Linked DNA regions of Homo sapiens: all the other regions are linked to region 1. The links are contacts of gene promoters, found by promoter capture Hi-C in blood cells and fetal thymus (Javierre and others, 2016). All regions are on one chromosome and are shown on one strand. Each heading gives the region's core, a stretch centred on a gene start or on the middle of the fragment in contact. The rest is flanking DNA. Distances are from core to core; before and after follow the strand shown.

Region 1 (4,618 bases), core at 212-2,711:
GGGGTTACTTTGCTGACCCTTAGCGCAGGGCTTCCTTTCCCTTCCCCCTCCGCCGCCAGTACCAATCCAACTCCCCATCTTTCTCTTTGTTTTTCCTCTTTTTCTTTTTCTCTCCCTGTTGCCGCTGTCTCCGCGTCCTTCCCCTCCGTTGCCGCCCAGGGCGCCGAGCCAGACTATGGGTCCCAGGTGGGGGCTGAGCGGCGGCAGCAGCGCGGGCGGTCCAGTCACGGTGCGCACTGCAGCGGGGATGGAGGGGCTCAGTTGGCTGGTGGTTTTCTCTTGACATGGCTCCTGCCCGTGCTACCAGCAGCGCCCCCGCCGCCGCCGCCTCTTCCGCCGCCGCCACCGCTCCGCCCGCAGGCTGCGGCTAGAGGGCCCAAACCCCGCCCTAGAGTCGGTCCGTGAGTCCCGGGCTCCGCGGGGACAGGGAGGGGATTTCCCCGTCACCCACCCCGCCCTAGCTGCCTCAATTCCACCCCCTGCCCCTCGGGAAACAACTAACGACCCCACCCTAAACAATCCAAACTCTGGAAACATGGTCTGTTCAACGTGAGAGAGAGCTAATCCGGGAACTTAATTTTTTGGGGGGAGGGTGGGTGGGCTTACTTTAGAAGTAATATTAACACAATTATTTTCTTTTTTTCCCCCACTGAACCTTCCCATTTACCCTCTCCCGCCCACTCCACCCGGGCGGGAATTGTTTCCACGATGAAATGAGTGAAAACCTGAGTGATCCTGTGTCTCCCGTGGTGCGAGTGAGTCGCTGCCGCTGAAGGCAAGGGGTGGGGGTGGGACCTGCGGGGGTGGAAGGCAGGTGGTCTCCGGGCACCGCCTGGGATTTGGGAGAAGAACCCGCCACCTTTGCCTCGGCAATGCTCACAAGAAGATAAATCGCACTCCCCACCATTTTGAACGGGGGCAGATCCACAGGGAAGTCTCCCTTGGGGAATGTAGGACTAGTTGCAGGCTGGGGGTGTTGGGAACCCGGGCATTAATCAGGTCTAACCACAGAGCCGGAATAATTAATACCGTATTATATACCCCTTTTCCTTCTGCCGTCATGATTCTCCTTGGCAGCAGCGTTAGCAGCCGCCTGAGGGTGAAAATGTGGGTGATGGGGAAGTTGGTAATGACTCCGCTGTTTTTTCTCATGGCTCCTTTGGGCCACAGCTGCCCGCCCCCGGTATACACTGTAGTTGATTGCAGGGAAACCCTGTACCTCTCCCTTTCCTTCTCTACCGATTTTGCACTTTTCTCTATGCTCACCACCAAGTGTAATCAATAACAAGCACTGACAATACATAGCAATAGTGAAATCTGAAATAACTAAGAATTAGGTACTACAGCCATGGAGCTGGCTGGGTAAAATCTAATTGGATATTTCAGTTTCATTCACCTACCCTGTTTTGGTGTTTGGTTTTGGTTTTGGTTTTGGTGAGTTTTTTTTTTTTTTTTTTTTGGAAAGCAAGGATCACACTTCCCCCTCCCTGTTCCTTAATCCCTTTTCTAAAAAGGGGGGAAAATCCGGATGGATTTTAGGGATTGGTCTGGTGTCAGCTGTGTTTTATTGCACACCTAAATCCTGATTATAGGCTTTTCATTTCTCCGCAAAGCCTTTATTTTGGCAGTTAAGCCAAATGTGTTTTCCAGAAAGTTAGTTATTTTCTCCTCTTTCTTTCCTTTCTTTCCTCCCTTTTTCCCGTCTGACCCCAAACGTTATTGTCCAAACATGACTGGACAGCAGCTTTTGTTTCTTGACCCTGTAATATGACAGTCTGCTAATATTGACAGAAGGTGCAGTTTTTGGGTTATAGTCGTGATTTTCGCTAATCAATCATATTAGCAGGAAAAAAAATGACTTGTTTCTGTTGTACTTGAGTCTTAAGAAAAAGTGCCCATAGTTTAGTGACAATTTCCAAAGGCTTTAGTACCACCTGTATTTCAAAATGGGGGACCCAAACTCCCGGAAGAAACAAGCTCTGAACAGACTACGTGCTCAGCTTAGAAAGAAAAAAGAATCTCTAGCTGACCAGTTTGACTTCAAGATGTATATTGCCTTTGTATTCAAGGAGAAGGTAATTTAAAGTTCTTAATGGTGAATTAGCACAAGTAATTTTTGTAAGTGTATATTATTTGTTACTCTTAAATTATTATGAATATTAGGTTAAAGAGTGGTTGAAAAAAAGTCTGCTTTGTATGCTCTGTTTTTTCACCCTTAGGGGTGATTCTGTGAATTGAGCAGTTGCAGCATGCGAAAAGACCCTTGAGCGTTCTTTGGTTTGGAAATAAATTTGAGTCTGAAGCTTAGTAGTAGTATACACTGAGTTGACATGGGGTGGGCAAGATTACAAAATTTTATATGGAGTTAACATGGGAAACCTTATGATGGAATTTAAAGATTATCTAATGTAGAGTATAAATAAGATGGTTGAAAGTGTGAAATTGTAATCAGACTGTTTATATGCTAAAGTTTATCCTGTTTCTTAAACTGCGTAATGTAGGTAACCTTTTCTCTTACATTTAATGAAGTAGAATACACCTTTTAGGAGCAATTAAATACTGAAATGGTTAATTTGTGTTTAGAAGTGTGATTTTCTTTTTTACTTAGAGTTCATTTTGCCTTGTATAGAAGTACAGTTTTTAAAAACTCAAAATGACCTAGAGGAAGTTTCATTTTTAGGGGCGGTGGAGGTCTTAATCAGAATTAGTTCCGCAGTTAAATAGCAAACAGTAAGTTGTGAGTAGTCAAGGATGGGATGATAAGAGCAGTATTTTTTGCAACTTAAAATGAACATTTTCTTAAATTATCAGCAAGGCTTATTTGACCAAAGATGAGGTTATGAATGTAAGGAAGTGCTACTTGGATTTTGGTGCTTAAATTGTTAGCTAATTTCAGATCAGAAATACAATCTTAGTGTGGTATCTATTAAGTATCTGGAAGTTTTCCAGGTTTCCCCCTACTGTTTAACTCTTATTATTTTTGTTGCTGAGACAGGCCTCACTGTATTGCCCAGGCTAGTCTTGAACTCCTGGGCTAAAGTGATCCTCCTGTCATGGCATTTTAAAGTGCTGGGATTACAGGCAGGAGCTGCCACGCACAGCCCCAACTCTTAACTCCTAAAAGGTTATTTGTATTTAAGAACATTCTTAGCTGCTGAAGTATAGCATTGTGAAGTGATTTTTAAGTAATTTTTGAAGTGACTGTCCCAAGATTGGGTGGTATCAAGGACTTACATCTCCACTTTTGTTTTGTTGACAAGCTGACTCAAAATTGATGAGATTGGATTTTAGTTGAAGATGATACAGTGTATGCTCTTTAAATAAATCCAAGATAATAAGTAGTGAGACCATATCTTTGTATTTAATCTATATATTGCCCCAAATTGCACCATCTTAATTCTTTAACACCAACGATAATCTGGTTTTATTCTGTGAATGGACAGTGTCCATGCAGTTGCCCTGAATAATTCATGATATATACTTAATAGTACAGAATTTTAAAAAGTAGTTTAGTGATGCGTACTTGGTCTTGAGTAGTATTAAAAGAGAACTTGGTGTGCTTCTTTTTAGTCTTTCAAATATTGATGGTTTTGGCTGGGTGCAGTGGCTCACGGCTGTAATCCCAGCACTTTGGGAGGCTGAGGCAGGCGGATCACTTGAGGTCAGGAGTTCAAGGCCAGCCTGGCCAAATGGTGAAACCCTGTCTCTACTGAAAATACAAAAATTAGCCAGGTGTGGTGGCGCAGGCCTGTAATCCCAGCTACTCGAGAGGCTGAGGCAGGAGATCCCCTCGAACCCAGGAGGCAGAGGTTGCAAGTGAGCCAAGATGGTGCCACTGCCCTCTAGCCTGGGCAACACAGTGAGACTCCATCTCAAAAAAAAAAAAGAAAAACCAGAAATATTGATGGTTTTGATAATGTAATATTGAGAAAGTAATGGAAATTGGCCCATATAAGGAATAAAACTATTCATTTGTCTGAATAGCGTTGTTTTAAAACTGGTGAGATTTTTAATTTTAAGAAGTATTGTCCAAAATAGTGCTATGGATACCATTATGCTATAAAACTCAAGCATTAAACATTCTAATGACAGTTTGTACATGTATGGTTGGAGGGGGAGGTAGGGGAAGAACAGAAGGAATTACCTATCTGAAAATGTGTTTTCAGTGTATAAGTTACTGCAGACAGTTAAGAATTTTGTGGAGTTAATGTTACATGACATTGTAATATGAACTGAGTGTTAAAAGGCTGTGCTCCCTGTGGGTTAATACACCATTTTCTTTTCTTCTAGAAGAAAAAGTCAGCACTTTTTGAAGTGTCTGAGGTTATACCAGTCATGACAAATAATTATGAAGAAAATATCCTGAAAGGTGTGCGAGATTCCAGCTATTCCTTGGAAAGTTCCCTAGAGCTTTTACAGAAGGATGTGGTACAGCTCCATGCTCCTCGATATCAGTCTATGAGAAGGGTAAGTTCTGCCTTAAGTCTTGACTTGATAAAGTTTCTGTGGATTAACCTTGCATTTCCCCGCCCCCCGAACCCCCCTTAAAGTGGATAGTTATGATAGTGACCAGTCTCTTCAGGTAAATTTGTCTTTGTGCCATGTTGATAACTGGGAT
Region 2 (4,618 bases), core at 1,335-3,834, 4.5 Mb after region 1:
CCATGGCGTATTTTACAGCCACACACTAGACAGTTGGTTTTTGTGTGTGTGTGTGTGTGTGTGTGTGTGTGTGTGTTTTCCCTTCTTGAGTTGGTGTTAGTGTTTTTCTCCTTGTAAGTGTGAAAAAATATTGGTACAGCCTGCGCGGCAAGTTCTACTGAACTTTTTTTTCTTTAAGTTTGGGATTGCCTCGTTTCCTGTAATCAAGTTCTGAAGTAGTCTGATACATGAAACCAGTGTTTCTTTCATCAGTGTCCTCAAGTCGTTATTGTTTTTAATTTAGATGACCCTACTTAAAAAACAAGCGCGATGAATCTGTAGACGGTAGTCTATAGATTTTGAATGCAGGACCTGGGTTTTAGACTTCTGAGGCGAGGCTTGTTCAGGGGTGACAGTTATTTTGTACCGTGTGTGATGCGGGACACACAAGGACACTTTGGTTTTCCCAGGGTTCGGTTGGCTCATATGCCTGGGGCTGGAGCTTCTGAGTAGGACAGGTTAGGGGGAGGAGAGGGGCCCCAGTGAAGTTATTTGAACTGTCCAGGAATTATCTACAACCATTAAAATTAAAAATGGCAACAACAGTGATTCCTGGCAAGAAACCTTCCTGAAGATGAAGCCCGTCTTACTCATTTCCTTGTCTCTTCAGGTGCTGCAGGCTAGATCTGCGGGATACTTAGTAGTGACCCAATCAGTAAATGTTGATTTAAATAGAATTGGGCAGGGCATGCTGGGGGAGGACCCACTGCGCTCCTGTTTTGTTTCATGCTTTTTTGCCTGGTTTTCTTCCCCTTCCTCTCACCAGTGCTCCTTTTCCTTTCCTTTTAACAAGAGCACACCTGCTGCCCTTTGCGCACACCCCTTCAGCAATGAGAAAGTGAGACCTGGACATTTGCCTTATTCGGGTCCTGTTTACTGAGCCACCCTCATACCTGGCTCACTCTGAGGACCTGACTGAGAACTCCACCTGATGTGACCATTGCGTTCTCATCAGTTGCAGAATACAGAAAGTCAGAAACTTGGGAAGGGTTTCGGTGCCAAAGCATTTGTGCTTTTGTAAATTACTCTTTAGTTTCTGGTGAGGATGAGATAGACCCAGGGACCCAGGCAGAGGCGGACATAATAGCAAATTCTTTAGTTCTGAAATTAAATAAAACTCATAGCTGAATTTCCTTAAGGGGAGTTTGTTTTGTACTTACCTCTCCACTCCCTATCAGAAGGTATTTTAATTGCATTTTCTCTTCTAAGCTCTTCTACACAGCTAGAAAGACTCCAGGAAGGCTTTTTGTATGGCTAAAGGACCATGGCAAGTTATGGCTGGGAGGTGCTAGAATAATGTTTTTAATGTCTTTCAATTGCATCCCCTACTTTCCTATAAAGGTAATTCTGGTTTTAATTCATAAAAAGGAACAAAAGAGCCTTAGGAATGTTTAAAACTGGGAGGGAGGGAGGGAGGGAGGGAGGGAGAGACTTCTGGGATAAACCGAAGGAGAAATGTTTGCCATGGCCAGGAGCACCTGAGATCTCTTAGCTCTTAGGTCAGTCTGACCACCCTCCAGCAGGAGTGAGTGTGGATGACCCTTGGTGGAAGAAGCACTTAAAAGGCAGTGCCCCAGGTAGCTTATTTTAGGCCCAAGGAAAATCCCCAAACCATAAATAAGGTCGTTTGAGGCTACGTTGTGGCTTGCGAGTTTGGAAGCTTTGTGTGTTTTTTCCCTTTCACATTTTTAAGGCTTTTTAAAGGCTTAGATGTCAGACTGACCTGGGTGCAATTCCAGTTCTGCCAGCAAACTTCCCTTTGTGACTGCCAGCTGGTACTCTACCCTCTTGGAGACTCAGCATCCTCATGTAAAATGGGAGATGACAATAAGACCTACCTTTTGAGGTTGAGAAATTTTATATGATGTGAAATGCCCGACATTAGGAAGGTTCTTGTATCAGGGTCCTTGCAGGAAACGGGAACCAACCCCATTGGCTGAAATGAACAGACTTTAATGAATTACTTAGAGGGGTATGGGCAAGTTTAAGGGAATCAACAAAGGATGTTGAGATGCTGAGATCAGAAGTAGGGGGCAGCTGGAGGGGAAAGTGGAGTTACTTCATTGCCATTTGTGAGAGCTGGACCTGCCTGGAGGTCATGAAGAATCAGAGAGAGAACCTCAGCCCTTCTTCCTACCTTGTAGCCCTTCCATCTCTTCACAGTGGCCCCCAAGGCCTCAGCCTGCAGGGGCTCCTCCTGTGGCACAGGATAGGGAGGATAAAGGTGGAGGCAGATCTAGGGAGTAACCTGAGGATAAGAGTGCAGGCCTTGATACGTGTTTGCTCCTGTCCCATTAGAGAGTGACTTTTGATTGGCCTGGGATATGCTCAAAATTATAAAATATATATCTCAAGTTACTCAAATAGTTTTTTGTATGCCTCTTAAGGACACTGAATCATTTCCTAATGTCTTAACATCCTAATTCCTGATTAATTGCACTCCTGTGAATGTCTTTAGCCTCTGGATCCTGTGTCAAGTAGTTTATTATCAGCAAAAATGGAAATACCTGGTAAGCATTCTGCTTCGTATGTGAAGAACTCTTTATTCATTCTTTTTCATCTGATTCTTCCATTTATCTGTTCTGTTAACTTCGTGGCATCCTTAAATAGGAAAGCCTGTGTGTGGTTAGGACTATACTCAGGAAAAGTCTATGGTTTTTGTTTTAGGGATTTTGATTAGTCTGACATCCTCCTAAAGATGTGAAATATAAAATTATCTCCCTTAATTAGAGACAAATAGCGCATAATAATTCAGATGCAGAATACAGGAAATGGGATGATGACTTAGGGGCCTCTATAGATGCTTCAAAGATAAGGTTGTTGAAAACTTTATTTCTAAATAATGGGCCCTTGTCCAGTGAGCAAATATGGAGTTATGGTAGGTGGTAGGATTATGCCAATAAAAACCTTCACTTAGGATAAAGTGGGCAAGCACTTTTCTTTCCTGTTTTGGGGGAATCAAGGAATCATCTGCTCCTGTCCTCCTCACTTTGTTTTGGTTGTGGAGTGTAACTTAATGTGCCTTTAAACTAAAGGTTTGCAAGACTGACTCAGTTGCCAAAACAGATATGATAATGTTGATGTTAGTAATTTGTGTAGTGCACAGTTACGTCATTATGTCCTAGGAGCTGTGAAAGCTGAAATGGAAAGTGTTTCCAGGCTTTAAGGAACTTCCAATTTGGTGGTTGGAAATTCTGCCCACCAGCAAAGCATTTTTGGGGTATTTCACCTGATGGTGCCCCCAAACTGTGTGTGTGTGCATGAAGTATGAATTCAGTGTTACACTAGGACTCTCTGAGGTATTTTTTTTTCCCCCTAATTTGGCATCAGCAGAAAAAGGGGCAAGGGGAAAATAGACCAGGAGATAAGAATCCAGGAAATAATTTTGAGATTAAAACAGCGAAGGTTTAGGATTATTAATGTAAGCTTGTGTCACCATTTACAAGTCTGGATAAATGAAGACCAGCTTTAAAGACGTGGCATTCCAGACTAATGGTGATACCAGGAGTGAGTTTGATTATTTCACCTGGGCCCATGACTACAAAGTTTCTTTTTTTTTTTGAGACAGAGTCTAGCTCTGTCACCCAGGCTGGAGTGCAGTGGCACGATCTCGGCTCAGTGCAACCTCCGCCTCCCAGGTTCACGTGATTCTCCTGCCTCAGTCTCCAGAGTAGCTGTGATTACTGGAGCGCGCCACCATACCCGGCTAATTTTTGTATTTTTAGTAGAGGCGGGGTTTCACCATCTTGGTCAGGCTGGTCTCGAACTCCTGACCTTGTGATCCGCCTGCCTCGGCCTCCCAAAGTGCTGGGATTACAGGCATGAGCCACCACGCCCGGCCGACTACAAAGTTTCTTTACCTACCTGGATCTGTCAGTCCTGGTTGCTTCCCTTGGCCATGCTTGCAAAGCCCAACCTTCAGTTCTCTTCTTATCTAAGTCTTGTCCTTCATTAAAAGCTCAGCTCACATTCCAGTCATTGTTAAATCAATTAAATATTTATTTAATGCTATTAGTGCCAGGTACCTGGCCATATGGTAGAAATACAAAGATGAAAAAAATCAAGGTCCCCATCCTGCAAGGGCTTATATACTCTAGAGGAAACAAAAGGCCCATGTAAGTATATAGGCTGTGTATGCTCACAGACCTGCGTAGGCACTGCACAGGTTTGTAGATGGTGCCGTCGTGGAACAGAGAAGGGATGCCCACAGGACATGCTGGACTCATGTAGAATTTACTGTTTACATTTGATGCTTGGTAAATGTTACCTTATATTGTTAGTTATCTTGCTGGGTTTGTAAGCTTAATTCCAAACTAATTTGAAGTCTCTTTGTAGTCAAGGCTTGAGTTCCCATACAACTTTATTTATGGATCCTGACATCTAAATTTCATGGAATTTTCACCTGTCTTGAAATGTTCTTCCTTAGATTTTTTTTAACCCTTTAAAATGTAAAATGCATTTGTAGCATGTAGGCCACACAGAAACAGGCAGTGGGCTGGATTTGGCATGATAATCGTATCTCCTGAAATATGGTGCATGGATTGTCATCAGAATCTTCTGCCATGGGTGTTTCTGGGAT
Region 3 (4,618 bases), core at 1,575-4,074, 4.2 Mb after region 1:
TACTCTACTAGTCGTGCTGCGCTCTGGGCTGGATCCGATGCTGTCTGACTCCCAAAGAACTTGCTCTTTTCACTGCATTTTACTAGCCTCCTCAATCATTTGTGAAAAGAGGTCTCTTCTTTAATATTAAAAAAACAGGAAGGAAAGGATAAAGGTCAGTTGGTAGGTTTCACTTAATATACATCATTGAGCACCACACAAGTGTTTTTGTTTTTTGTTTTGGAAAACTTAGATGGCAGTTTAGCAGACACCTATGGAAAGAAAATACTTTTATGGAGTACGGATTCTCACCCGCTTTCTCTACATATGTTATCTCACTTTACTATTCGTTACCCAAGACACTGTATTTGACCATGTGTTTACCAGAAGAATATCTTTACTTGAAAAAGTAAAGGTAATAGGAGGCAATAGGCCATGAAGAAGGGTCAGAAATCGTGAGTTTTATGCCTGACTTAGGGTTTCATAGTGATTTGGGGCAATTACTTTGTTTTGCAAATGCCTTTCCTAGTACAATTTCATCTAATTAAAATGCCATCCATCTACTCAAGAGGCTGATGTGGGAGGATCACTTGAGCTCAGAAGTTTGAAAACAGCCTGGGCAACACAGTGAGACCCAGTCTCTAAAATAGATTTAAAAAAAAAAAAAAAAACCACCCTTTTCTCTGTTTATCCATATCCATAAAATAATCTAAACTGTGCCCTGGGGTCCACTGTTGTCTTTACCCACCTAAATTAAAATTGTGTATTTATGTTGCCCTACTTTTTTTTTTTTTTTTTTTTTTTTTTTAGATAGGGTCTTCTTCTGTCACCCAGGCTGGAGTACAGTGTTACCATCACAGCTCACTGCAACCTCTCCCTCCTAGCCTCAAGAGATTCTCATGCCTTAGCCTCCCAAGTAGCTGGGACTACAGGTGCACACCACCATACCCATCTAATTCCATCTCTTTCACTAGACCAAAAGTAGGCCCTGGGTTATCTTCTTGGTTGTAATCGCACTACCTAGCACATAACCTTGTGCCTATGTTTATAGCTTCTCAATAAACATATGTTGAATGAATGAATGAATGAATGAATGACTCCACCCCTTTTCCCCCAAGATCTAGTTGAGTTCAGTAAAAGATATTTTACTGAGTATGTACCCCATGACCACAAGCACTGTGATAGATGCTAGAGCTAAAAAGAAAGAAAAAAAGTACTGCCTATTGCAATTGCAGGCTATTTTGAAAAAATTCATTTCAGTAGAGAATAGCAATCACTATGAAAGATGAATGCACAGGAACACAAAGGTGAAGTAAGGGAAATGGATGAAGGCATTCCAAGCTGGAGAGTCAGCCAGAGCAAAAGCAAGGAGGCCTGAAATGATGAATTATTCCACAGTGTAAAAGCAAAGAGAGTGAAGCTGGTGATGGGAGAAGTCTACCAGAGAAAGGGAAGCACAGGGACTAGATCAAGGTGAACCTTGTGTATTCAAAGGCATTAGACTTAATCCTGGATGTATGTAGTAGGCAACATGAATGTGTTCGAGCAGATTATTCTCTCAGGACAATGGGTTTGAGGACGATATTTCAGACATGAAGAAATAGTAAAAGCCTAAATTGAGTTGTTGGCTGGGAGGAATGGGAAGGAAGGACAGATTTAAACAAATTGAGGAGGTAACAGCAGCAAGACTTGGTGATTGATAGGTACGAAAAAAGAGGAAGAAAGGATGTTTTCAAGTTTTGGCTACAAAAACTAACTAACAGGTGAAACCTCTCTCTTTAAGCACCTTTAGTCTAAATCCTTTGAAGTCAGTAACCCTACCTCTAGGAATTTATCTTACAGAAATATACATAATGACCTATGTTCCAGAGTATTTTTTGAAGCATTGCTTACAATGACCTATGTTCCAGAGTATTTTTTGAAGCATTGCTTACAATGACCTATGTTCCAGAGTATTTTTTTAAGCATTGCTTACAATAGCAAAAGACTGGAAACCCTCTCCGGCTCCTCCTCAATAGAGTATTGGTTAAATATATTTATAGTATCTGTACAACCTTTGAAAAGCAACCAGTAAGTCCGGGTGCAGTGGATCACGCCTGTAATCCTAGCACTTTGGGAAGCCGAGGCGGGTGGATCGCCTGAGGCCAAGAGTTCAAGACCAGACTGACCAACATGGTGAAACCCTGTCTCTACTAAAAATACAAAATTAGCTGGGTGTGGTGGCATATGCCTGTAATCCCAGCTACTCAGGAGGCTGAGGCAGGAGAATCTCTTGAACCCAGGAGGTGGAGGTTGCAGTGAGCGGAGATTACACCATTGCACTCCAGCCTGGACAACAAGAGCGAAACTCCATCTCAAAAAGATTAAAAAAAAAAAAAAAAGGCCAGGCACGATGGCTTACGGCTGTAATCCCAGCACTTTGGAAGGCTAAGGTGGGCGGATCACGAGGTCAGGAGATCAAGACCATACTGGCTAACATGGTAAAACGCTGTCTCTACTAAAAATACAAAAAATTAGCCAGGCATGGTGGCATGAGCCTGTAGTCCCAACTACTCGGGAGGCTGAGGCAGGAGAATCGCTTGAACCTGGAAGGCGGAGATTGCAGTGAGCTGAGATCGCGCCACTGCACTCCAGCCTGGGCAACACAGTGAGACTCCGTCTCAAAGAAAAAAAAAAATAATGCTTTGTTTCTTAAATTAGAGTTAAGCTTCATAAATATACACCATCCTATTTTGTTCCTGTTTTTTCAGCCAACAATATAACACTAAATGCTTTATAAATATTTGGTAATAAGTAAACAAACCAATTGGTGTATACCAAGAACATTAAAAATGCAAGTAAATCTATAAAATAATAGTAAAGCTAAGATTTTTTCAAACACTTATAAATGTGTGCCAATAACCACCCATAAGTAACCCTATAAATGAGGAGTGCTATTATTATCTTGTTATCTCTTTTAACAGAGAAGAAACCTAAAGCTTAGGCAGTCTGACTTCAGTTGTTTTAACAACTCTATATGAATACTTCAGAAGAAAGCAACAATAGTGCAAAATTTCAAATAGAGAAAAAGCATTGGAGAGAAAAAACAAAAGAGTGATCAAGGAAAAGTGGAATAAAATCTGTTTGCCTGGACCGGGCACAGTGGCTCATGCCTGTAATCCCAGCACTTTAGGGGGCCGAGACAGGTGGATCACGAGGTCACAAATTCAAGACCAGCCTGGCCAAGATGGTGAAATCCCGTCTCTACTAAAAATACAAAACTTAGCCGGGCGCGGTGGCAGGCACCTGTAGTCCCAGGTACTCGGGAGGCTGAGGCAGGAGAATCGCTTGAACCTGGAAGGTGGAGGTTGCAGTAAGCCGAGATCGCGCCACTGCACTCCAGCCTGGGTGACACAGTGAGACTCCATCTCAAAAAAAAAAAAAAAATCTGTTTGCCTTAAATATTTTATGTTGGCCTTCACAGTAAAAATTGAAGAGAAAATATGGACAAGAAAGAAGTTACACAATTCTTACCCTCTCAGTGACTAATCAATAAAGAATAAAATATGAAAATTATAAAAATCTGGGGCCAGGCACGGTGGCTCATGCCTGTAATCCTAGCACTTTGGGAGGCACAGGCAGTTGTTTCACTTGAGCCCAAGAGTTTGAGACCAGCCTGGGCAACATGACCAGACCCTGTCTCTACAAAACAAACAAAAAAGTAGCCGGACATGGTGGTTCCAGCTACTCGGGAGGCTGAGGTGGGAGAATCACTTGAGCTCAGAAGGTCCAGTTTGCAGTGAGCCGAAATCACACCGCTGCACTCCAGTCCAGGCAGCAGAATGAGACCCTCTCTCAAAAATAAATAAATAAAATTAAAATTAAGAATTGGGAACTGCTTTTTAAGATTATGTTTTGGAGACAGGGTCTGGCTTTGTCACCCAGGCTGGAGAACAGTGGCACCATCAGAGCTCACTGGAAACTTGAACTCCTGGGCTCAAGCAGTCCCCCCACCTCTGCCTCCCAAGTAGCTGAAACTACAGGGGCATGCCACCACGCTCGACTAATTTTAAAACTCTTTTTGCAGCAACAGAGTCTCACTATGTTGCCCAGACTGGTCTTGAACTCCTGGCCTCAAGCAGTCCTCCACCTCAACCTCCCAAAGCGCTGGGATTGCATGCATGAGCCACCAGCCCAGCTGGAACACATGTTTTAGATTTAGTTGATGATCTGAGCAACTAGCCATTATACATACACATCTGTACCAATCAATATCCCTTTTCATGAGAAAATATTCATGTGCTTAATTCACTCTTGAAAGATGATAAACAATATACATGAAATTTTCTATGTAGAACATTAGGTGAATTTAGTAGAATGAGAGTTAAAACAGATTTTTATATTTATATATATATAAGCTACATATAAGCAAAGTGAAAAGTATGACTATTAAGTGCTCTTAATTTTTTTTTTTACAGGAGCATGCCACCGTGCCCAGCCAATTTTTGTAATTTCAGTAGGGACGGGGTTTCACCATGTTGGCCAGGCTGGTCTCGAACTCCTGACCTCAGGTGATCCGCCTATCTTGGCCTCCCAAAGTGCTGGGATTACAGGACTGAACCACTGTGCCTGGCCAACTAAACAGTTTTTCAGGAAAGTT
Region 4 (4,618 bases), core at 1,494-3,993, 3.2 Mb before region 1:
AGGCTAAGGCTGAAGAATCGCTTGAATCCGGGAGGCGGAGAATCGCTTGAACCCGTGAGGGGGAGATTGCAGTGAGCAGAGAACTCACCATTGCACTCCAGCCTGGGGTGACAAGACCAAAACTCTGTCAAAAAAAAAAAAAAAAAAAAAAAAAAAAGGAAAAAGAGGCCAGCCTAGCTCAGTGAGAAACTGATTAACTATTACAACATGAGTATGTAATGTTTTGCACATACAGTAATCATAGAGTAGTTCATAATGTACTTGCAGAGACTGATTTTTAGAATAAAATTAGATATTTGCTAAAGAGGTAAATAATCATACACATTTGAAATATAAAAGGTAAACATTACTGAGAAACGAAATCTGATAGCTGGAAGGCAGGGCAAGGCAGAGCCAGCCTAGGTCAGGAAGGTCACACAACATTTATTTGAAACTTTTTTTTGAGACGGACTCTTACTTTGTTGCCCAGGCTGGAGTGCATGGAGTGCAGGGGCTCGATCTTGGCTCACTGCAACCTCCGCCTTCTGCGTTCAAGCGATTTTCTTGCCTCAACCTCCTGAGTAGCTGGGATTATGGGCGCCCTCCACCACGCCAGGCCAATTTTCTTTATTTTTAGTAGAGAAGGGGTTTCGCCATCTTAGCCAGGCTGGTCTCGAACTCCTGACCTTGTGATCCACATGCATCGGCCTCCCTTCTGGCTGGGATTACAGGCGTGAGCCACCGCGTCCGGCCATTTGAAACTCTTTTTCTTGGAATAAAGTCATCCTCGGTCTTTTCCTCCTGCACTTTATTTGTAAATGTAAAAGACAGGGTTTCTGGGCACAGCTGATTTCCTAGTTCAACAGAAAAGAGGAACATGAGGGAGCTCAAGCGGCACCTTCACAATTCTAAGGAAATACAGGGTAAAAGCCACCTTTCTTTCTCAAACAGCTTCCTGAAGTGTTTCTAGGTGGAATGAGGAAAAAAAAATAGAAAGTTCTTGCCCCAAAAATGTGGTTGGCGAGGGAGAGAAAGGAACAGAAAGGACAGCTACAGAAAGAGTAAAATATAAGGAAAAGAATAGAGAACCAAATTTGAGAAAGGTGAGGAATCCCACCTTGGAGCTATCATCAGGCGTCGTCTTTTGCAGTCAGCCACTCCATAGGCTGATCACTTCGAGTTTGTACGGAAGCAGTTTCTACACGCTATTTCACAAATGCCCGAAACGACTGTGATTACCCCTCTAGAGATGGCGCCATTTGATTCCAGCAGCCACAAAGCACTAGAACAATCGATGCTAAGAGGTGACAGGAAAAACAGGCTGCAAAGACCCAGACAATGGAATGCAGCGGTGGTCAGCCTAAAACACTGTAGAAGGGCAAGATGAGCTGAGTAATTTTTAACTGGGCATCATTTTTAGAAACTGGAGTTTAAGTACCCCCTTTTCCATTTTTTCCTGAAGTCGTGGGCAGGGCGCAAGGTCTGTGAATCGGCCGACCGGATGCAGCTGGTGTGGAGAGTTCCCAATCAGGTCCGATTTATTACTATATAAAGTACTGCTGCGAGGCTTGCCGTGTTGCATTTTGTTTAGTACAAGACATGTCTGGGCGCGGCAAAGGCGGGAAGGGTCTGGGCAAAGGAGGCGCTAAGCGCCACCGCAAAGTTCTGCGCGACAACATTCAGGGCATCACCAAGCCCGCCATCCGACGCCTGGCACGGCGTGGAGGCGTTAAGCGCATCTCAGGCCTTATATACGAGGAGACACGCGGAGTTCTTAAAGTGTTTTTGGAGAATGTAATCCGCGATGCAGTTACCTACACGGAGCACGCCAAACGCAAGACAGTCACAGCCATGGACGTGGTTTACGCGCTCAAGCGCCAGGGCCGCACCCTGTATGGCTTTGGCGGCTGAGTGTTTTACTTACTTACACGGTTCCTCAAAGGCCCTTCTCAGGGCCACCCATGAAGTCTGTGAAAGAGCTGTAGACTAAAGATAGTTAATTTCTTAAGAACACTTAAACGTATGGCAGTTTTGGCAAATTAGCGATTCCACATAAGCAGTCGCTGAAGTTTGAGGTTCGGTGCCCCTTTCAGCATTACTTAGTGGTTAAAAGTGCCGGCTTCTCTGATACACGGCCAAATCTATAACGCCTCTCTGGTTTTTGCAAAAGTCATAATGAAACAGCCGGTCTCATTTATCTTGTATCGATTACTTTACCGCTACCAATGCGAGGGCTGTGTAACTATGACACTGTGGTCCGCAACGCCCAAAATGTTTTAATATCGCCCTTTACAGAAAAAGTCGGCCAACTTCTAAAACATTAAGTACGTTTAAATTTGAGAAATACTGGCATACCACAACGCTCGAATTTCATATCCCCTTCAATGCCTCCATTTACAAATTTACTCTAGTTTCACTTTTCCTTTACGTTCTTTAACTTTTTGTCAAATCAGTAATGACACCTCGTAATTAAAATAGTGCAAGGCAAGTTTAGATTTATCAAGCTTATATTTAAACAGGATTTTGATGCATGAAAAATCCTAGACTTTTGGGGGATTTTTTTTTGTTTCCGTTTTTGTTTTTCTTTAGCTAGCAAAACCATTTTACGTTTCTTGACCCAAAACAGAGGCGGAATGTCTCCCTTTCACTAGCAGATTAAACTGGGAGCCAATTCCGTGTGTGAGACGTGGCATGGCACAGTCTACTGTCCAATCAGAACGCGAGGGCAGCTATAAATACCGGGATGATCAGTTTTTTTCTCTCATTTGTGTTGAGTAGGTACGTCTACTTAGCCATGGCACGAACAAAGCAAACAGCTCGCAAGTCCACCGGCGGCAAAGCGCCGCGCAAGCAGCTGGCCACCAAGGCGGCTCGCAAGAGCGCTCCGGCCACCGGTGGCGTCAAGAAGCCCCACCGCTACCGCCCCGGCACCGTGGCCCTGCGCGAGATCCGCCGCTACCAGAAGTCGACCGAGCTGCTAATCCGGAAGCTACCTTTTCAGCGCTTGGTACGGGAGATCGCACAGGACTTTAAGACCGATCTGCGCTTCCAGAGCTCGGCGGTGATGGCGCTGCAGGAGGCTTGCGAGGCCTACCTGGTGGGGCTATTTGAGGATACCAACCTGTGCGCCATTCACGCCAAACGCGTCACTATTATGCCTAAAGACATCCAGCTTGCGCGCCGCATCCGAGGGGAGAGGGCATAAATATTCCTATCAGCCCAAGAAGTCTGTCCAACCCCAAAAGGCTCTTTTCAGAGCCCCTCAATTGTCACCAAAAGGAAGCTGTAGCTTTTGAGACGTGTCTTAGCTCCATGTTAAATACAAGCTGTGGACAAAACGTGGTAGTGGCCCAACACACTATAATGCAGGAGTCAGGTCACAGGCTGTTGGTATGCTAAATCAATTTCACATACAGAACCTGTTCCTACTGATAAGGATTATCACTCAAAAAAGACATGTCATGGGGTCAATTTTACAGATGAAGTTTAGTTTTGAAAAGTATTCCTGTTTTTATCCTTGAGGAATGTGTCTCCTGCGTATCTACCTGCCCCTACTGAAGGGAACAAGTAGCACAATGAGTGTCCACAGGCTCTGGTGAGGCCGAGGCAGGCGGATCACAAGGTCAGGAGATCAAGACCATCCTGGCTAACACGGTGAAACCCCCCTGTCCACTAAAAAAAAGACTGCCGGCCGTGGTGGCACGCGCCTGTAGTCCCAGCTACTCGGGAGGCTGAGGCAGGAGGATCGCTTGAACCTGGCAGGCAGAGGTTGCAGTGAGCCGAGATCGCGCCACTGCCCTCCAGCCTGGGCTACAGAGCGAGACTCCGCCTCAAAAATACAAAAAACAACAGGCTCTAAAAACTACACACATGAGAGTGGAACAATAGACAATAAGGACTCAGAAGGGAGGAAAGAATGAATGATAAGTTACTTAATTGGTACAATGTAAGCTATTTAGCTCTTGTATAGCCCATGTAACTTGACCACCTTGGAGCATATGCACATAACAAAGTTGCCATCGTACCCCATGCAAGTAACAGTTTTGACAAAAAGCTCGACACTTTTGTTCTGTTTCAATGTAATGTTTAGCAAGCCATGTGTTAGGTAGTGGGCCTCTGAGGAGGGATACTTTAACCTACTGCATGCTGTCATCTATGAAATGAACTTCTAGCTCTAAGTGGACCTTAAAAAATATTTTCCTGTCATTTCACCATATGCTTGTCATAGACTGTGGAGTTGGATTTTCATGAGATTTTTTCTTTCTTTTTTTTTTTCAGAGAGAATCAGTCTGGGTATTAAACTTCAAGTGGTATTTTAAAGCTCTTCCTGGTTTCTAACCAAACTTTTCCATTATTTCCAGCTGTTTTAGAGTTTCCTCATGTGCTCTACATATGTGACTATCATGACCTCATTTTGCTCTTAAACTTTTTGAAGCACACATCTTGACCTAGGAGATATCTGGCAGAGATGTGAAGGCAATTTTTCTCCCTAGTGCTCTCAGCCAGCTCAGCCTCATATCTGTGCCTTCCTTTCTCATATTGGATTCACTCTTGCAAAGAGGCATGTATCCCAGCAACTGGTGCAGCGGTGTCCGATCTTTTGTCTTCCCTGGGCCACGTTGGAAGAAGAATTGTCTTG
Region 5 (4,618 bases), core at 714-3,213, 3.1 Mb after region 1:
CCCTTTTTGCTGTAATTGCACCAGTTTTAAAGCCTCTGGACAGAGCAGTATTTCGTTTAAAACTTTGTTTTTCTTAAAAGCTTACAGTGTTTGGCTAATTCTCCTCCCCTTTTTACAAGACGGGGGCCGGAGGGTGGACACTGGTGGCAGGTTAAGGGATACTGTCACTTTAAGAAGCCTGCAGATTGAAGTGTAAACATGGAGAAATTAGGGGCTGATTTTTTAAACTGTGTGAGATATTAACCAGCCGCCCTGTTATAAAATCAGGAAATCCAAACAGCGATTTACACCGATTAACACCCCCTTTATATATTTTTTACAAAAATACACTGAGAAAATAATCAAACGTTTTCATCTCTCTTGTCTTTTTTTGTTTTTTAAAAGTGTCAAAAGTCTACATTTAAATATAAAAAATTAAAAGTTAAAACTCTAGCCCTTCAGTGAAGGAGACGTAAAATGGCGTGGGTAACAACAACTACCAAAAAAAAAAAAAAAAAAAGAAAAAAAAAAGAAAAAAAGGAAAAGGAAGGAATAAAGAAATAAAGGAAGTAAAAAGAAAGGAAAGAAAAAAAGGGACAAAAGAAAAAATATGTTTGGCCAGTATAAATACGTCCACATATAAAATGGCATCTGATTACATTTACAAGGAAAAAGAAATACGAGGATGGAGCATCGGTGAAGGAAAAAAACACGTCTTCTCATTTACACCTATAAGGAATAAACACACACACTGAGAAAAAATTTGGTCCTGAATTGTTTTTTTAAAGTCCAGCACAGATTTGAGTTGCGTTTGAATCCTTTAAAGAGTTAAGAATGAAAAAAAGCTGGTGATAATTTCGTTGTAGGAATCAAACATAGCGCCATCTATCTGCTTTTTATATTATCCTACACTATTTTAAAAACTGCTCAACAGTCTTATACAGAAATCTTTAAAAGATAGACAGGATAACATGCTATATTAACCCCACCATTGAAATAATCCAACACCATCACGATTCCGATTAAGAGAAGAAAAAAATCTTTTTTTTTTCTTTTTTTTTCTTTTTTTCTTTTTTTTTTTCCGAAACCACTCGCCCTCCACTGACTGCCCCTGTACCACATCAAACAGTCTCCTCTCCTCCACGCCTCCGGGGTCTGGGAAGTCTCACCTCACTGATTTCACGTAGAAAAGAAGGCGGAGGCCCAGCAGCCGCCGCCGCCAGCTCCCCAACGTGCAAATCCATTTCAGTTTGACCGTGAACCCCCTTCCAGTTCGTGTCCTCCTCCGCCCCCGCCCCTAGCTCCCGCTGCTGCGCTTCCAACGGGGTTCTCGGGTCATTTCCTAGCGCCGGTCACACTGGCTGGCCTCCTCCCCTCAACATCTCCTCCTCCGGCTGCAGAGGGGGCAAGGGGAAAAGAGGGAGGAAAAAAAAGCCCCAAACGGGAATTCGCCTGCGTGGAGTCTCTCAGTCCCGGCGTTCCCCCAAAACATCTGCCATCGGCCAAATTCGTCACCCCGGAGCCTTCTGTCTTCATCACGCGTTTAAAAAAAGGGGGGGAGGGGTGCGCTGGGTTCTCCCCTCCTTTCTTGACCAAGAAGCAAAATAAAACAAAACCAAGGTGGTGATGCAGGAAGGGGGAGACTCCTTCAAGTCTCTAGAAAACTAACTCGCCTTCTTGCTGGGGGTGCAGACAAGTCCGGAAGCTCGTTGGAAGGGGGAGGGGGTCTCTTCAAGCAAAGGGGAGCAAACTCGAAGTCGCTTTTTTTTTTTTGCCATCAACAACAACATCAATAACAACAATCACAGGTCGCCCCTGTCTACCCTCTTCCTCCTCCGCGTCCCTCCGGCTGGGCAGAGTGGGTCCCCGGCCCGGGAAGGTGGGGGATGGGAGCGCGGGTCCAAAACGCCGCCGCGCTCCTTGATCCGACGACGAGAACGCGGGCGAAGCCAGCCCTGCTTACTTTTTCTTTCTTTTTTCCCTTTTCTCTTTAAACTCTTCGTCTGTCCTTTTCGTTTCTTTTTTTCACTTTTTTTTTCTCCTCTCCTACCCCCCCCGGCCCTTCTCCCTGCCTGCGCGCCCTTCAGTAGGTGAAAACCAGGTTGGAGATGCTGGACTCGAGCCAGTCTCCCGAGATCATCTCGCTCACCTCGGGCGTGCAGTAGTCCGGGAACTCGAAGTGCGAGCCGGAGCCGGGCTCGAAGTTAAAATCCAGGTCCCGGTCGAGCGCCGACGACGAACTGAAGCTGCCCAGGGACATGCTCTCAAAGTTTGAGCTGGGGTTCAGGTCGAGCAGGTCGTCTTCGAACTCGTCGTCGGAGGACGAGGAGCCCGAGGAGGAGGAAGAGGAGGAGTGGGACGAGGCCGAGGAGGACGCGTGCGAGGGCGCGCTGGACGGGGCGGGCGAGGCGGCGCGCAGGCTGGCGTAGCCGCGGTGGTCGGCGGGCGAGCGGCCGGCGGCGGGGGACGAGGCGGCGCTGCTGCGGCCGCTCAGGCTGGGCGCGTCGGGCGAGCAGCCCGCGCCCTCCTCCTCGTACAGGCCCAGGGGGTCGCTGGGGTCGGCTCCCGCGCCCACGCCGCCCACGGGCGACGACGACGTGCCCAGGCCGCCGAACAGGTAGACGCGCTTCACCTTCTTCTCCGCCAGGTGCTTGCCCGGGGCCGCGAGCGCTGCGGAGGCCGAGGCTGCCGAGGAGGCGGAGGCCGAGGCGCTGGGAGTCCGCGCCTTGTACAGCGAGTGGTGGTCGGCGGCGGCGCCCAGGGGCAGCAGGGCGGCGGCCCCCGCCTGTTCGGCGGCGAAGGAGGCGGCGGCGGCAGCCGCTGCTTTCCCGCCGCCGCCGCCGCCTGCCAGGATGAGCTTGGCGTGCGGTTTGCTAACCCCACCGCCCGCGCCGCCCGCCACTTTGGAGCCGCAGCTCTTTTTCTGCGCCGGTTTGGAGTTGGCGCCGCCGCCACTCGCACCGCCGCCTCCTCCCCCCGCGTTGCTGCTCCCGCCGCCGCCGCCGCCCCCATGGCCGCCCCCGCCACTGCCACCGACCTTGTCTCCCTTCTCCCCCGGCTTGGAGGAGGCGGCGGCCGAGGAGCTGGAGTTGGCGTTGCCGGACTTCACCTTCTTCCTGGGCCGGTACTTGTAGTCGGGGTAGTCAGCCATGTGCTTGAGGCGCAGCCGCTCCGCCTCTCGAATGAAAGGGATCTTGTCGCTGTCTTTGAGCAGCTTCCAGCGTTTGCCCAGCCGCTTGGAGATCTCGGCGTTGTGCATGTCGGGCGACTGCTCCATGATCTTGCGCCGCTCGATCTGCGACCACACCATGAAGGCGTTCATGGGTCGCTTGATGTGCCCACTCGGGGTCTTGCACCAGCTCGGGTCGTCGGCCTTGCCGCCCGTGGAGGCGGTGGAGCCGGGCGTGGGGGAGGAGGCGATTCCCAGCTCGAGGCCGGCGCCCGAGTCCGAGCTCTCGCCGGCCAGCAGCGCTTCCGTGTTCTCGGCATTGTTGGTTTGCTGCACCATGGCCTCGGCTCGGCGGGCGCCCACGCGCGCTCACACCCTCGCGGCGGCCGCCGCGCGATCGCCGGGCCCTCCCGGTTCCCCGGGCCAAGCACACGCCGAACGGGAAGACGCGCGCGGCGGCCGAACTGGCCCCTCAACTCCTCGCAGGGGCGGAGGTGGGTAAAGAGAGAAAAGTCCCCAAAAGATTTGGGGAAGGAGTTCTCCGCCTCTCGCAGAGGAGTTATAGTTCCCAGGCTGGAGAGTCTCTCTCTCCCTCTCTCTCGCTCTCTCACCGCGCTGCAGTTTGCTGTCTCTCGGCTGAGTCTGGAGACCGTGCTAAAGTAGAGAGGAGTTTCTCGAATGCTGGTTGCTGAAGCTTCCAATGCAAGTTTCTCGCGGCCTCCCAGGCAAGTCTTTTTTTTTTTTTTTTCTTTTTCCCTGAAGCAGTTGATTCCAGTTCACGAGCGCTCTCGGTAGCTCAGGAAAGCGACATAGTCTCTAGCACTTAGTCCCTCTCCTACAATGCAAAGCAAAAAAGACTGTGGCTCCAGGACTCTCTGTGGGCGGAATCGGCACTAAGGAGTTGGTGCAATTATTTTGTTGCAAGGTAGGAAGCCAAAAAGCCTGCATGCAACAGACTGGCATGAATAAATGTATGTTTCCCCCTCCCTTCTGCAAGAAGGGAGCTGGTAATGGCAGGAGTTCCTCCAGTGCAGACTCTTAAAGAGCGTGCAAGAACTAGAGACCCGACAGCGAAACAGGCCTCTTCCCCTCACACACAGTTTCTCTTGCTGCAGCTTAGAGCAGACCCCAATTCCGCCTCGCGCCTCTTTATCCTTTCACAGTCTTGGCTGCAGCCAATCAGCTGCTGTAACCAACGCTTCCTCATGCCAAACCCCTCCCCCGGGCTTCCCATTGGCTTGGAACCCGATGCAATAATAATCTCCGCGTGCAATGAGAAGCTCCAAATCTGACCTCATTCCAATTTACAGAGCAAACTTTTTAAAAGGGCTAGAAGTACAGCTGAGATTTCTGCTGCCTCTTTTTTCCTTTTGCTGTGTGTGTGCGCGCGCGTGTGTGTGCGCGCGTGCGTGTGTGTATAGTGTGTGAAGAGGATGTTAATGCATGAAATTATTAAGGGGAGAGACGGAA
Region 6 (4,618 bases), core at 1,585-4,084, 3.1 Mb before region 1:
AATAATGTGCACGAGGGAGAATTACAAAGTGATTACCCCAGTCCCTAAAGGAGTACAGAAGCTTATGTAACTTTTTTCATAGGGGAAGGAGGAGATGGGAAAGGTAGACAATTCCTTTGAGGGGCAATAAAGGCTTGTTATGGAAAATAAATGGGCCACAGAAAGAAATTAGCTTGTAAATGATTGTCTTCATAATTTATTTATTTATTTTGAGATGGGGTCTTAATCCGTCTCCCAGGCTGTCACCCAGGCTGGAGTGCAGTGGCACAGTCTCCACTCACTGCAACCTCCACCTCTGGGATTCAAGTGATCCTCCTACCTCAGGCTCCCTAGTAGCTGCGACCACAGGCATGCACCACTACAACTGGCTAATTTTTTTTTTTTTCAGACAGAGTTTCACTCTTGTTGCCCAGGTTGGAGTGCAATGGTGCAATCTCGGCTCACTGCAACCTCCGCCTCCCAGGTTCAAGTGATTCTCCTGCCTCAGCCTCCCAAGTAGCTGGGATTACAGGCATGTGACACCACCTGGCTAATTTTTTGTATATTTTGTAGAGACAGGGATTCGCCATGTTGGCCAGGCTGGTCTCGAACTCCTGAGCTCAAGGGATCCACCTGCCTCGACCTCCCACAGTGCTGGGATTAGTGGGAGGAGCCACAGCACCTAGTATGTCTTGGTAATTTAAATGAGACCGAGAGGCAGACATTATCTTGAAAAATCCATATTCAGTATTCTTTTCTGCAATAATGAAATAACAGGGAGGGGATAGAAGGCAATTGTTACTTCTGGTAAGAAATTTTCTTGGTCCGATTAGGAAATGTCAGAGTCCCTTCGCATGTATGGGAAAGAAGACGAAGTTAGAGGGGCTTTGATTCTGAAGCTTATTTCTGAGGCCTTTCAATGTTCAAAAGCGCTCAGCATGCCCAAGAACCACATTTTGGGGAATCATTCTGCACCCCAACAGTACCGTCACTATCCTATTCTAACTTTGTAGATGAGCAAAGATTTAAAAAGAATAAACAAGTCACCTCGTGTCTGATCGGTAACAAGTCAGCTCGAGTCTGAAAGGTAAACATTTAATCTAAAACCAAAGTTTTCTATTTCCAGAGTTTCAACTCTTAACTACTTTCTAAACAAAGAATTGAATACTAAGAGATTATATTAGAATAGTTATAGGAGTTTTATAATTTTCATTGATGTTAAAATAATTTCAGAGTGGCCGAGCGCAGTGGCTCAAGCCTGTAATCCCAGCACATTGGGAGGCCGAGGCATATGGATCACGAGGTCGGGAGTTGGAGACTAGCCTGGCCAACATGGTGAAACCCCGTCTCTACTAAAGATACAAAAAAATTAGCCGGGCGTGGTGGTGAGTGCCTGTAATCCCAGCTACTCAGGGGAGGCTGAGGTGGGAGAATCGCTTGAACCCGGGAGGTGGAGGTTGCAGTGAGCCAAGATTGGGCCATTGCACTCCAGCCTGAGCGAAAGGGCGAGACTCCGTCTCCACAAAAAAAAAAAAAAAAAAAAAAATTCAGAGTATAACCCTGTATTTATTAATAAGAAAGAAAATCAAATATACGGAATCAAAGTTGCTCCATAATGGTTGATAACAAATCTTTAGTTGGGTCATATAAAAGTGTCTTTTTAAAAACCTACAAGCGTCCAAGCGAAGCGGCTCACGCCTGTAATCCCAGCACTTTGGGAGGCTGAGGCGGGCGGATCACGATGTCAAGAGATCAAGAGCATCCTGTCCAACATGGTGAAACTTGTTCTTTACTAAAAATACAAAAAATTAGCTGGGCGTGGTGGCGCATGCCTGTAGTCCGCGCTAATCCGGAGGTTGAGGCATGAGAATCGCTTGAACCCGGGAGGTGGAGGTTGCAGTGAGCCGAGATTGCACCACTGCCCTCCGGCCTGACGACAGAGCGAGACTCCTTCCAAAAAAAAAAAAAAACCCCACACACAAAACCTACAAACACCAATTTTCTAGTTATAAGAGCTTGTTTTAAGGATTTTAATTCTATTCCAATTAAGTCCTAAAGCTAATGCAATTATCAAAATCTCGAAGAGATTTTATTCAAACTTCACAAAAGGTCTCTAAAGTTGTCCAGAAACCTTGGTGAAACAGATTAGGAAATTTGGAAAGGAAATAATGCGGAGACCCGTAGTACCAAATCATGAGACCTCTAATACAATTTTAAATATTAATGTAATAAAATTTAAATTTTGGTGTAATAAAATCATAAATTTCAATATTGGTCCCAAGTATAGAGAAAAAGTACATTTATGTTGAATGTGGAAAACATTATTTTTAAAATACAGCCGATTAAAAAATTGCTGGGGAACTGATTATAACTATTGATAATTCCTAAGAAACATAGACACCAAAACATCACTTTTATCTCTTTAATAGAAATTGGTTAAATTATAATCAATATAAGGAGGTTACAAAACTCCATATACAACACTGTATACATTTTCTTGGAAAAATATGTGCAACTGCTCTGCAAAATACATGATTAACTAGCCTGTGTGATGGGATAACATTGTAGTTTCTTAATTTCTTGTCCTTTCTTGTATTTCCCACAGTATTGATGTATATCTTCTGCGTTCAAAAGCAATTTTTTAAAGCCTCATAACGTGGTAACAAAATACTATGCACGTTACAAAATTCAGAACACGGAAACAAGAAGCTCGCTTTTTTTTTCCCCCTATTTCGGTTTGGCCCTTTAGATTTCCCCTCCCCCACCGGGGCGGGACTTCCCGCCGACTTCTTTCAGGTTCTCAGTTCGGTCCGCCAACTGTCGTATAAAGGCGCTGCCTCAGGCCAGAGTCCTCACAAAGCGTTGGGTGAGACTCCTCTTGCTCGTCATGTCTGGCCGCGGCAAAGGCGGGAAGGGTCTTGGCAAAGGCGGCGCTAAGCGCCACCGTAAAGTACTGCGCGACAATATCCAGGGCATCACCAAGCCGGCCATCCGGCGCCTTGCTCGCCGCGGCGGCGTGAAGCGCATCTCCGGCCTCATCTACGAGGAGACTCGCGGGGTGCTGAAGGTGTTCCTGGAGAACGTGATCCGGGACGCCGTGACCTATACAGAGCACGCCAAGCGCAAGACGGTCACCGCCATGGATGTGGTCTACGCGCTCAAGCGCCAGGGCCGCACCCTCTACGGTTTCGGTGGTTGAGCGTCCCTTTCTATCAACAAAAGGCCCTTTTTAGGGCCCCCACTTTCTCAGCTGAGGAGCCGTGATGCTTGTTTGCCCAGTTTCTCTTTACCATTTGTTCGCGCCTGCTGAGTTTGTGCTGCTATCGGAGCATGCGTCTCTAGTCGCTGTAAGTAGGCATCAGTCACTAATCGCTCTCCAGTAAATAAAATACCCAACACAACTTGTTTCAGGTGCTCCAGAGCTTACTGACATGGGCCGTCGCGCAGACTGTAGTGCAGTGTCATCATGGCTCACTGTAGCCTCCCGATTAGCCGGAACCTCGCGCCCACCACCACGCAAGGCTAATTATTTTTCCAAAGACCGGGTCTCCGTGTGTTTCCCAGGCTAGTTTCGATATCCTGGCCTCAATCCCCTCGCCTATGCCTAATGTTGGTATTACAGTAGTGAGCCACCACGCCTGGCCACGATACTGTTGAGGTTTTAGGGTTAGTTACATTTAAGGGGCAATTTTCGCAGTGTAGTGGGGAGGAAAGTCAAGCAGTTATAGGTTTCTGGCGCTGTGAATCCAACTGCTGAACATAGCAAGAACTTATTATGCAACAACCTTTAATCAGTGGACCGTAAATAAGTTTAGTTTATCGGTTTTGGCCCAATTCTTGAGAAAGGTGAGAATTTGAATCCTTGAGTAGAAATACGTAGCTTATCAGTACAACAAAGTGATCACAACAAAGACTAACTTATCCTTTGTTACTTAACGTGGGCAGAGCTTTACCGCTGAGAATTCCTCAGCCTTTGAGTGTTCTCTTATTTACAACTGAAGTTGATAAGATGGTATTAAAAGTGAGATTCCTAGTAAGTAAACTTAAAGGCCTGAAGGACCAGTGATTAATGGGAAGTGCTAATAAGTCATATTTGAGGTTATCCAACCCGAGATTCTGATTTAATTGGTTTAAGGATACTATCACCTTGTGGGTTAGATTTGAAAAATAATAATTGCTTTAAGGAAGGAACCTGTTGGTATTTAAACAAAAAACTTTCCTTCCTGATTCTTACATGCCGTCACTTAGACAAATCTCTGGTCTACATGGCTGGATCTCTTTCTGCTAGTTAAATTCTGTGCTACCCTGTGAAAAAGAACTGAGATTAATAAAACGGTAGTGAGAACACAGGGAAAGATAAAAATCATAGCAAGCCCATCCAGTCATGCTGTAGTCATCCTCACAAGGATAGGGAAGGATCTTGTCCTTCATTTATCACCCAAAGTGTGAGTACAAACTTTAAAAACATATGATACTATAGGAATAATGAAGATGTCTCCATTTGCAAAAATTGTGTGAAAAAATGCACTTGACACAGGTATTTCCTATGATTTCATAATAGACAAAGGTTTAATTACACAACTCCTGGCTGAATCTAGAGTACTAAAATGTGGCTGTTAGAAAAGGTTGCTCTCTGGGC

The links. The method cuts DNA at HindIII sites, captures the fragments that hold promoters and counts their contacts. A CHiCAGO score of 5 or more calls a contact.
Region 2: a contact is called between a fragment that was not itself captured here and the fragment with the promoter of C6orf62 in region 1, in 1 of 17 cell types (M2 macrophages). The highest score is 6.2, in M2 macrophages.
Region 3: a fragment that was not itself captured here is called in contact with the fragment with the promoter of C6orf62 in region 1 in 1 of 17 cell types (fetal thymus); the score reaches 8.7 in fetal thymus.
Region 4: a contact is called between the fragment with the promoter of H3C11 here and the fragment with the promoter of C6orf62 in region 1, in 1 of 17 cell types (fetal thymus). The highest score is 7.3, in fetal thymus.
Region 5: a fragment that was not itself captured here is called in contact with the fragment with the promoter of C6orf62 in region 1 in 1 of 17 cell types (fetal thymus); the score reaches 7.4 in fetal thymus.
Region 6: a contact is called between the fragment with the promoter of H4C12 here and the fragment with the promoter of C6orf62 in region 1, in 2 of 17 cell types (M0 macrophages and neutrophils). The highest score is 7.0, in M0 macrophages.

What each region holds. Positions count from the first base shown.
Region 1 is chr6:24,715,997-24,720,614 of GRCh38, reverse strand. It overlaps C6orf62 (chromosome 6 open reading frame 62), which reads left to right and starts at 1,461. Exons shown (of 5, transcript NM_030939.5): 1 at 1,461-2,075; 2 at 4,291-4,467. The coding sequence starts at 1,947. RefSeq lists a silencer at 248-417 and an enhancer at 1-780. The HindIII fragment of the contact is 3,349 bases long and covers 1-2,305 here.
Region 2 is chr6:20,207,428-20,212,045 of GRCh38, reverse strand. The region is part of intron 1 of MBOAT1 (membrane bound glycerophospholipid O-acyltransferase 1); the gene reads left to right. Among named protein-coding and RNA genes, the nearest start is that of MBOAT1, 2.7 kb to the left of the region's middle. The HindIII fragment of the contact is 1,766 bases long and covers 1,702-3,467 here.
Region 3 is chr6:20,529,538-20,534,155 of GRCh38, reverse strand. No RefSeq gene overlaps it. Among named protein-coding and RNA genes, the nearest start is that of CDKAL1, 2.6 kb to the left of the region's middle. The HindIII fragment of the contact is 271 bases long and covers 2,689-2,959 here.
Region 4 is chr6:27,870,471-27,875,088 of GRCh38, reverse strand. H3C11 (H3 clustered histone 11) reads left to right here and starts at 2,743. Exons shown (of 1, transcript NM_003533.3): 1 at 2,743-3,244. The coding sequence starts at 2,774. The coding sequence ends at 3,184. H4C13 (H4 clustered histone 13) reads left to right here and starts at 1,555. Exons shown (of 1, transcript NM_003546.3): 1 at 1,555-1,941. The coding sequence starts at 1,579. The coding sequence ends at 1,890. RefSeq lists enhancers at 1,275-1,324, 1,405-1,574, 1,875-1,924, 1,356-1,993, 3,909-4,546 and 1 more. The HindIII fragment of the contact is 2,761 bases long and covers 2,486-4,618 here.
Region 5 is chr6:21,593,404-21,598,021 of GRCh38, reverse strand. SOX4 (SRY-box transcription factor 4) reads right to left here and starts at 4,271. Exons shown (of 1, transcript NM_003107.3): 1 at 1-4,271. The coding sequence starts at 3,487. The coding sequence ends at 2,063. RefSeq lists an enhancer at 1,511-1,710 and silencers at 2,521-2,570, 2,621-2,710, 3,481-3,660. The HindIII fragment of the contact is 3,762 bases long and covers 83-3,844 here.
Region 6 is chr6:27,829,776-27,834,393 of GRCh38, reverse strand. It overlaps H4C12 (H4 clustered histone 12), which reads left to right and starts at 2,834. Exons shown (of 1, transcript NM_003541.3): 1 at 2,834-3,220. The coding sequence starts at 2,867. The coding sequence ends at 3,178. RefSeq lists enhancers at 2,525-3,350, 3,274-3,383. The HindIII fragment of the contact is 8,845 bases long and covers 881-4,618 here.